2 separate regions of the Homo sapiens genome follow, and region 1 is linked to region 2. Evidence: promoter capture Hi-C in 16 types of primary human blood cells and fetal thymus (Javierre and others, 2016). All regions are on one chromosome and are shown on one strand. The core of a region is centred on a gene start or on the middle of the fragment in contact, and the rest is flanking DNA. Distances in the headings are between cores, read along the strand shown.

Region 1 (4,183 bases), core at 401-2,900, 95 kb after region 2:
GTTTATATAAATTGTTTATCAAATTGTCATCTCTAGCTCCCTCTTCTCATCAATTTCACTGACACTTTTCAGCCCCCAAGGGCCCCTCCGTAGTCCTCTATAAAGCCAGGGCTTCAGTTTCTCTGCTCTGCCACATACTTCTTATGACTGTGTCTTTCTGCAGTGCCAAGTGGCAAGAGCATAGAGAGAAAGACAGCAACAGGAACCCCTCCAGCAGTCTTGGGCCACAGACTCTTGAGAGAAGTGTTCCCTCTCAAAACATTTGGTGGCTCTCCAACTGCTTTTGCCTGTCTCACCGTGTCATGGGATTGCCTGGAAGCTGGGGCAGCAGGGAATGGCAATTAACACCGAAAACCAACCAACCAACAAAAACAACATCACAAAACACAAACTGGGGCTGTCTCCATTCTTCCTGATCTTCAGGGGACCCTGAACCACCAATAGAGAGCTTCTCTTAGAGCTCTTTCTGTCTGTACCTGGTTTACCATCTTAGCCTCCTGAGTGGTTGGGAACCACAGGTGCACGCCACCAAGCCCAGCTAATTTTTATATATATTTTGTAGAGATGGGGTCTTGCTGTGTTGCCTAGGTTGGTCTCAAACTCCTGGCCTCAAGAACCTCGGCTTCCCAAAGTGCTGGGATTACAGGCATGAGCCACCATGCCTGGCCAAAATTTTAATTTTTTATGTAAATCTTTCTGATAAAAATTTCAGGTCCGATGGCTCAACTGGTAAATCCTATCAAATAATTAAGGAGGGAGTAATACGAATCCCACCAAAACTTTTAGAAAACATAGAAGAGAACACTTCCTAAGTAATTTTATCAGGCCAGTGTTAACTCTGATACCAAAACCAAACACCTAACAAATAGACCAGGAGTCAGCAAACCATGGCTTGTGGGGCCAAACCAGACTACGATCTGTTTCTGTAAATAAAGTTTTATTGAAACACAGCCACAATTATTAAAGTACATACTGTCTCTTCCTATTTTCCTATTACAGTGGTTGAGTAGTTATAGCAGAAATTATATGACCTGCAAAGCCTCAAATATTTACTGACTCTTTACAGAACAAGGTCTGCTGGTCCCTGATATGGACCAGCAGCCTTCATGGAAAAAGATGCAAAAATGCTTTAGAAAGATTAGCAAGTCAAACCCAATAAATAAAAGAGATAAAATATCAAGGTCAAGTGAAATGTATTCCAGAAATACAATGTTGCTTTAACAAAGAAAACAAAAATAAGCCAATGTAACGCAATATATTAGCAGAAGAAAGGTTTAAAATGCATGATCATCTCAATAGTTGCAGAAAAGAAGCATTTGATAACATTCAGAATCCATTCATTATTATAATTTTTTTTTGAGAGAGAGAGAGTCTTGCTCCATTGCCCAGGCTGGAGAGCAGTGGTGTGATCTCGGCTCCCTGAAACCTCCACCTCCCAGGCGCAAGCAATTCTCGTGCCTCAGCCACTCCAGTAGCTAGGACTACAGGAAGGCGCCACCATGCCCAACTAATTTTTGTATTTTTAGTAGAGATGGGGTTTTGCCATGTTGGCCAGGCTGGTCTCGAACTCCTGGCCTCAAGTGATCCACTCCTCAGCCTCCCAAAGTGCTAGGATTATAGGCATGAGCCACCGTGCATGCCCCATTGATAATTAAAAAAAGAAAAAAAAAAGAATTCAGCAAACTAAATATAAAAGGGGACTGTCTCAACGGCAAAAAATATAGCTACAAAAACTTAAAGCTAATGTCTTAATGGGTAAAGTATGAATGATTTCTCTCTAAGATTAGAAACAAGGCAAACATGTCCACTCTCGCTGTTTGCATTTAGCATGGTACTGGAGGTTCTAGCTTGTGCAATAATAAAAGAAGAAAAAATAAAAGGCATACCAATTGGAAAGGAGGAAGAAACACTGTCCTTATTGCAGACAACATGATCATCTATGTAGAAAATCCTAGGAAATAGGAAATAAGCTACTAGAACTAATAAGTTAGCAGAACAAAGTGTCAATTGAATTTCCATATGCTAGCTCAAACAGTGGGAACTGAAATTTTAAAAAGAAAGTCATTATTATTATTATTATTATTATTATTATTATTATTATTATTATTTGTCTCCCAGGCTGGAGTGCAGTGGCACAATCTCAGCTCACTGCAAACTCCACCTCCCGGGTTCAAGTGATTCTCCTGCCTCAGCCTCCCGAATAGCTAGGATTATAGGCATGCCTCACCACGCGTGGCTAATTTTTGTATATTTAGTAGGGATGAGGTTTCACCAGGTTGGCCAGGCTGCTCTTGAACTCACAAGCTCAAGTGATCCGCTGGCCTCGGCCTCCCAAAGTGCTGGGATTACAGGTGTGAGCCACCAAGCCCGGCCTAAATCCCACCCCCTTTGCTCTGGCTCTTGATCTCATTGTATCAATCTCTGCTTCCATTATCACATCTCTTTTTTCTGACTCTGACCCTCTTGCCTCCCCGCTTACGAGAAACTTTGCAATGGGACCTATCCAGATAATCCAGGATAATTTCTCCACCTCAAGATCCTTAATTTAGGCTGGGTACAGTGGCTCATGCCTGTAATCCCAGCATTTTGGGAGGTTGAGGCGGGCGGATCTTTTGAGTTCGGCAGTTTGAGACCAGCCTGGCCAACATGGTAAAACCCCATCTCTACTAAAAACACAAAATTAGGTGGTTTGTCTTTTCATTTTCTGGGTGCTTTGAAACAAAGTTTTTGGCCAGGTGGGGTGGCTTATGCCTGTAATCCCAGTGCTTTGGTAGGCTGAGGTGGGAGGATCACTTTGAGGTCAGTAGTTCAAGACCAGCCTGGAAAATATAATGAGACCCGCCCCCTGCTCCCCATCTTTACAAAAAATCAAAAAAATTACCTGGGCATGGTAGCACATGCCTATATGCCTGATGATGTGCCAGCTAGGCAGGAAGATCACTTGAGCCCAGGAGTTCAAGGTGCAGGGAGCCATGATCACTTCACTGCACTTCATCCTGGGCAACAGAATAGGACCTTGTCTCAGGGGCTGGGCGCAGCGGCTCACGCCTGTAATCCCAGCACTTTGGGAGGCTGAGGTGGACGGGTCACGAGGTCAGGAGTTCCAGACCAGCCTGGCCAACATGGTGAAACACCGTCTTTACTAAAAATACAAAAATTAGCCTGGCATGGTGGTGCGTGCCTGTGATCCCAGCTGCTCGGGAGGCTGAGGCAGGAGAATCACTTGAACCTGGGAGGCTGAGGTTGCAGTGAGCTGAGATTGCGCCATTGCACCCCAGCCTGGGTGACATGGGTGACAGAGCAAGACTCCATCTCAAAAAAAAAAAAAAAAAAAAAAAACAAGAACAGAAACCCTGTCCTTACAAAAAAGGAACAAAGAAAAAAAAGAATACAAAGTTTTAAATTTTGATGAACTCCAATTTATGAATTTTTTCTTTTATTACTTGTGCTTTAGGTGTCATATCTAAGAAACCATTGCCTAACTCAAGGTCATAAAGATTTATACTTATCTTTTCTTCTAAGAGTTTTGTCGCTTTAGCTCTTATATTTGGGTCTATGATCTATTTTGAGTTAAGTTTTGTATATGGAATGAGGTAGGGGCTCAAATTCATTCTTTTGCATGTGGATATACAGTTGTCTCTCACCATTTGTTGAAAAGACTAACATTCTTGTCAAAAATCAATTGACTGTGAATGTGTGGGCTTATTTCTAGAGTCTCAATTTTATTCTATTAATCCAATGTAGATTCTTAAGTCACTACCATGATGTTTTCATTATTACAGCTTTCTAGTAAGTTTTAAAGTCAAGAAATGTGAGTCTTCCAATTTTTTTCATCTTTTTCAAGATTATTTTGTAATTCTGAGTCCCTTGCATTTCCATATGAATTTTAGAAGCAGCGTGTCAATTTCTACAACAGAGGCAGCTGAGATTTTGATAAGGATTAAATTGAATCCATAGATCATTTTAGGGATTATTGGCATTTTAACAATATTAAGTCTTCCAATCCATAAACACAGGATGTCTTTCCATTTATTTAGGTCTTCTTTAATTGCTGTTTCTTTTTTTTTTCTTTTGAGACGGAGTCTCACTCTGTCACCCGGGCTGGAATGCAATGGCACAATCTTGGCTCACTGCAACCTCCACCTCCTGGGTTCAAGCGATTCTCCTGCCTCAGCCTCCCTGG
Region 2 (4,358 bases), core at 527-3,026:
AGTATTCATGCTCCTTGGGTGGGGTGACTCTGAGGTGCGTTCTGCACCATTTTCCAGGGGATTTTGGGGATCAGCCCCGGTTGTCTGAACTCAAACCCTGCTCATGAACTCATCTGTCCTTGCCTCTCTTTCTTTTCTTTCTCTTTCTTTTCTTTCCTTCCTTCCTTTTTCTTTCTTTCTTTCTTTTTCTTTCTCTCTTTTTCTTTCTTTTCTTTCTCTTTCTTTCTTTCCTTCTTTTTCTTTCTCTTTCTTTCTTTTTCTTTCTTTCTTCTTTCTTTCTTTCTCTCTCTCTCTCTCTCCCCCTCCCCTCCCCTCCCCTCCCCTTCCCTCTTTTTATCACAGAGTCTCACTCTCTTGCCCAGGCTGGAGTACAGTGGCATGATCTCAGCTCACTGCAACCTCTGCCTTCTGGGTTCAAGCAATTCTCCTGCCTCAGCCTCCTGAGCAGCTGAGATTATAGGTGCACGCCACCATGCCAGGCCAATTTTTTTTTTTTTTTGTATTTTTAGTAGAGACGGGGTTTCACCATGTTGGTCAGGCTGGTCTCTGCTGAGACCAGCTTGGCTGGGGAGACCCTAACCCAGCAGCACTAGAGGAATTAAACACACACACACACACACACACACACACACACACACACAGAGAAATAAAGAGGTGTGAAGTGGGAAATCAGGGGGTCTCACAGCCTTCAGAGCTGAGAGCCTCAAACGGAGATTTACCCACGTATTTATTAACAGCAAGCCAGTCATTAGCATTGTTTCTATAGATATTAGATTAACTATAGATTAGATTAGATTCCCATAGAAGTATCCCTTATGGGAAACAAAGGGATTGGGCCCAAATAAAGGGATGTGTTTGGCTAGTTATCTGCAGCAGGAGCATGTCCTTAAGGCACAGATCACTCATGCTCTTGTTTGTGGTTTAAGAACGCCTTTAAGCAGTTTTCCGCCCTGGGTGGGCCAGGTGTTCCTTGCCCTCATTCCGGTAAACCCACAACCTTCCACCGTGGGTGTCATGGCCATCACGAACATGTCACAGTGCTGCAGAGATTTTGTTTATGGCCAGTTTTGGGGCCAGTTTATGGCCAGATTTTGGGGGCCTGTTCCCAACAGGTCTCAAACTCCTGACCTCGTGATCTGCCTGCCTCGGCCTTCCAAAGTGCTGGGATTACAGGTGTGAGCCACTGTGCCTGGCCCCTTGCCTCACTTTCTGACTTCCTATGGATGCTTGCAGGGCCCACTCCCCAAATAAACTCATCACCCTTCAATTTTTTTTCTTTGTTTAGAGATAGGGTCTTGCTCTGTCACCCAGGCTTGAGTGATCCTGGCTCACTGCAACTTCTATCTCCTGGGCTCAAGCGATTCTCCCACTTTAGACTCCTGAGTAGTTGGGACTACAGGTGTGCATGACCAAGGCTGGTTAATTTTTTTCTTTTTTTGTTTTTTTGTAAGACAGGGTCTTGCTATGTTGCCCATGCTGGTCTCAAACTCCTGGCCTCAAGCGATCCTCCTACCTTGGCCTCCCAAAGCATTGGGAATCCAGGCATGAACCCCGTTCCTAGGCGGCACTTGATTCCTGTTCCAAGATCTGGGGAAATCCGACCCGAAGGAAGCTTTGCTCTAAGACCTCCTTGGCCGTGTTGGGCTCAGACGTGGACTGAGGTTTCAGAGGAAGCAGTGGAGCGGCAGGAGCCAGGTAAAGGCAGTGGGTCACTGGCGGCAACCGGGTCCCCATGGTAACTTGGTCCCCACCCTGTGGCATCTGTGAGGTCACCCTGCTTCTCCCAGCTGGAGTAGGTGGGGGAGGCCAGACATGGAGGCCCTTCCTCCAGTCAGATCCAGCCTTTTGGGGATCCTGTTGCAGGTTACGAGGCTCTCAGTGCTGGTGAGTGGGGGCTGGGGGTAAGTGGGGTGGGGACCACACACCAGGCCCTTCACAGAGCCACCTCAGAGCTGCCGGGCCCAAGCCCTGCCTGTCCCATCCAGTGGAACGAGGTGGCTGCCTGCCTTCCAGAATAATCTGACATCTCCCAGAAGCCCCACTCCAAACTACAGTGCTGACATTTTCTTTTCTTTTCTTTATTTAGAGACAGGGTCTCGCTCTGTCGCCCAGCCTGGAGCGCAGTGGTGCCGGCTCAGCTCGTTGCAGCCTCCAACTCCCGGTCTCAAGCAATCCTCCCCCCTCAGCCTCCAAGTAGCCGGGACTATAGGTGTGCACCACCACGCCTGACTAATTTTTGTATTTTGTAGAGATGGTGTCTCACTACGTTGCCCAGGCGGGTCTCCAACTCTTGGCCTCACATGATCCTCCTACCTCAGCTTCCTGAGGTGCTGGGATTATAGGTGTGAGCCACCGCACCTGGCAGCATTTTCTCTATTGAGGGTCACTCCTATGGGTGAATCATTGTTTTTCCCATTCATTTTTTCTTTTTTTTGAGACAGAGTCTCGCTCTGTTGCCCAGGCTGGAGTGCAGTGGTGCGATCTCGGCTCACTGCAACCTCTGCCTCCTGGGTTCAAGCAGTTCTTCTGCCTCAGCCTCCCAAGTAGCTGGGACTACAGGCACGTGCCATCATCCCTGGCTAATTTTTTTTTTTTTTTGTATTTTTAGTAGAGACCCTGTTAGCCAGGATGGTCTCGATCTCCTGACCTTGTGATCTGCCCGCCTCAGCTCCCCAAAGTGCTGGGATTACAGACATAAGCCACTGCGCCTGGCTCATTCATCTCTCTCTCTTTTTTTTTTTTTCAGATGCAGTCTTGCCCTGTCGCGCAGGCTGCAGTGTAATGGTGCGATCTCGGCTCACTGCAACTTCCACCTCCAGGTTCAAGCAATTCTCCTGCCTCAGCCTTCCAAGTAGCTGGGATTACAGGCGTGCGCCACCACGCCCAGCTAATTTTTTGTATCTTTAGTAGAGACAGGGTTTCACCGCATTGGCCAGGCTGGTCTCAAACTCCTGACCTCGTAATCCACCCACCTCGGCCTCCCAAAGTTCTGGGATTACAGGTGTGAGCCACCGCACCTGGCCCATTCATCTCTTTTAAACATACACATGCTTGTGGTCGGGGTCACAACTCAGTCACACTTAGGAGGCCGAGGTGGGAGTATAGATTGAGCCTGGGAGGCCAAGGCTGCAGTCAGCCAAGATCATATAACAGGGGGCAGTTGAGAAAGACAGACACCATTAGATTTGCATCTTGGGACCGGGAGCTGTGGCTCACACCTGTAATCCCAGCACTTTGGGAGGCCGAGGCGGGCAGATCACCTGAGGTCAGGAGTTCCAGACCAGCCTGACTAACATGAAGAAACCTTGTCTCTACTAAAAATACAAAATTAGCCACGCGTGGTGGTGCATGCCTGTAATCCCAGCTACTCAAGAGGCTGAGGCAGGAGAATCGCTTGAACCTGGGAGGCGGAGGTTGCGGTGAGCCGAGATCCCACCATTGCACTCCAGCCTGGGCAACCCTGGGCAACAAGAGCAAAACCCTGTCTCAGAAAAAAAAAAAAAAAAAAAAAAAAAAAGATTTGCATCTTGGCTGTTTTACCCTCTAGCTGTGTGAATTTGGGCAAATCACTTCACCACTCTGAGCCCGTTTCCTCTCCTATAGAAATGATCTTGTGGGATCATGTGGGATATCATAGGTTTCCCTCCTCCCTGGTCTCAGCACCATAACCTGGGAGGTCCTATTTCCTAGCTCTACCCTAATTCTTCTCCCTGCTGGACCCTTTGGTCTCAGCATAGCTCCACCCTCCACGTCCCAAGCTCTGCAAATCCAGCCCGTGAGTGGGGGGTCTTGCAGCCAATCTCAGATGGTGGGGCCTGTGGACACGGGGATGGGGGGTCCAGGTGGGTGGATTGGTGTCACTCAAGGGCTGGGGGCTTTCCAGCTCTGATGAAGGGTCTCCAGGACTCAAGAACAGCTTTCCCCCACCTCACCCCAGTCCTGCAGCTTCATCTCAGTGAATGGGAGACACCGTTGTCCAACTCACCACCCAGATCAGAAATCTGGAATTCTTTTTTTTTTTTTTTGAGATGGAGTCTCACTCTGTTACCCAGGCTGGAGTGCAGTGGCACGATCTGGGCAAACTGCAACCTCCGCCTCCTGGGTTCAAGCAATTCTCCTGCCTCAGCCTCCCGAGTAGCTGGGATTACAGGCATGCACCATCATGCCCAGCTAATTTTTGTATTTTTAGTAGAGATGGGGTTTCACCAGGTTGACCAGGCTGGTCTCGAAATCTTGACCTCAGGTGATCCGTCTGCTTCGGCCTCCCAGAGTGCTGGGATTACAGGTGTGAGCCACCATGTCCGGCTGGAAATCTGGAAGTCTTTCTGGATCTCTCTCCTTCACCCTTCTCATTAGGT

The links. Contacts are between HindIII fragments. The CHiCAGO score rates a contact against its expected background, and 5 or more counts as called.
Region 1: a fragment that was not itself captured here is called in contact with the fragment with the promoter of TMEM270 in region 2 in 1 of 17 cell types (M2 macrophages); the score reaches 5.8 in M2 macrophages.

What each region holds. Positions count from the first base shown.
Region 1 is chr7:73,954,130-73,958,312 of GRCh38, forward strand. No RefSeq gene overlaps it. Among named protein-coding and RNA genes, the nearest start is that of ELN, 72 kb to the right of the region's middle. The HindIII fragment of the contact is 6,290 bases long and covers 1-4,183 here.
Region 2 is chr7:73,859,383-73,863,740 of GRCh38, forward strand. TMEM270 (transmembrane protein 270) reads left to right here and starts at 1,777. Exons shown (of 3, transcript NM_182504.4): 1 at 1,777-1,884. The coding sequence starts at 1,813. The HindIII fragment of the contact is 5,367 bases long and covers 1,611-4,358 here.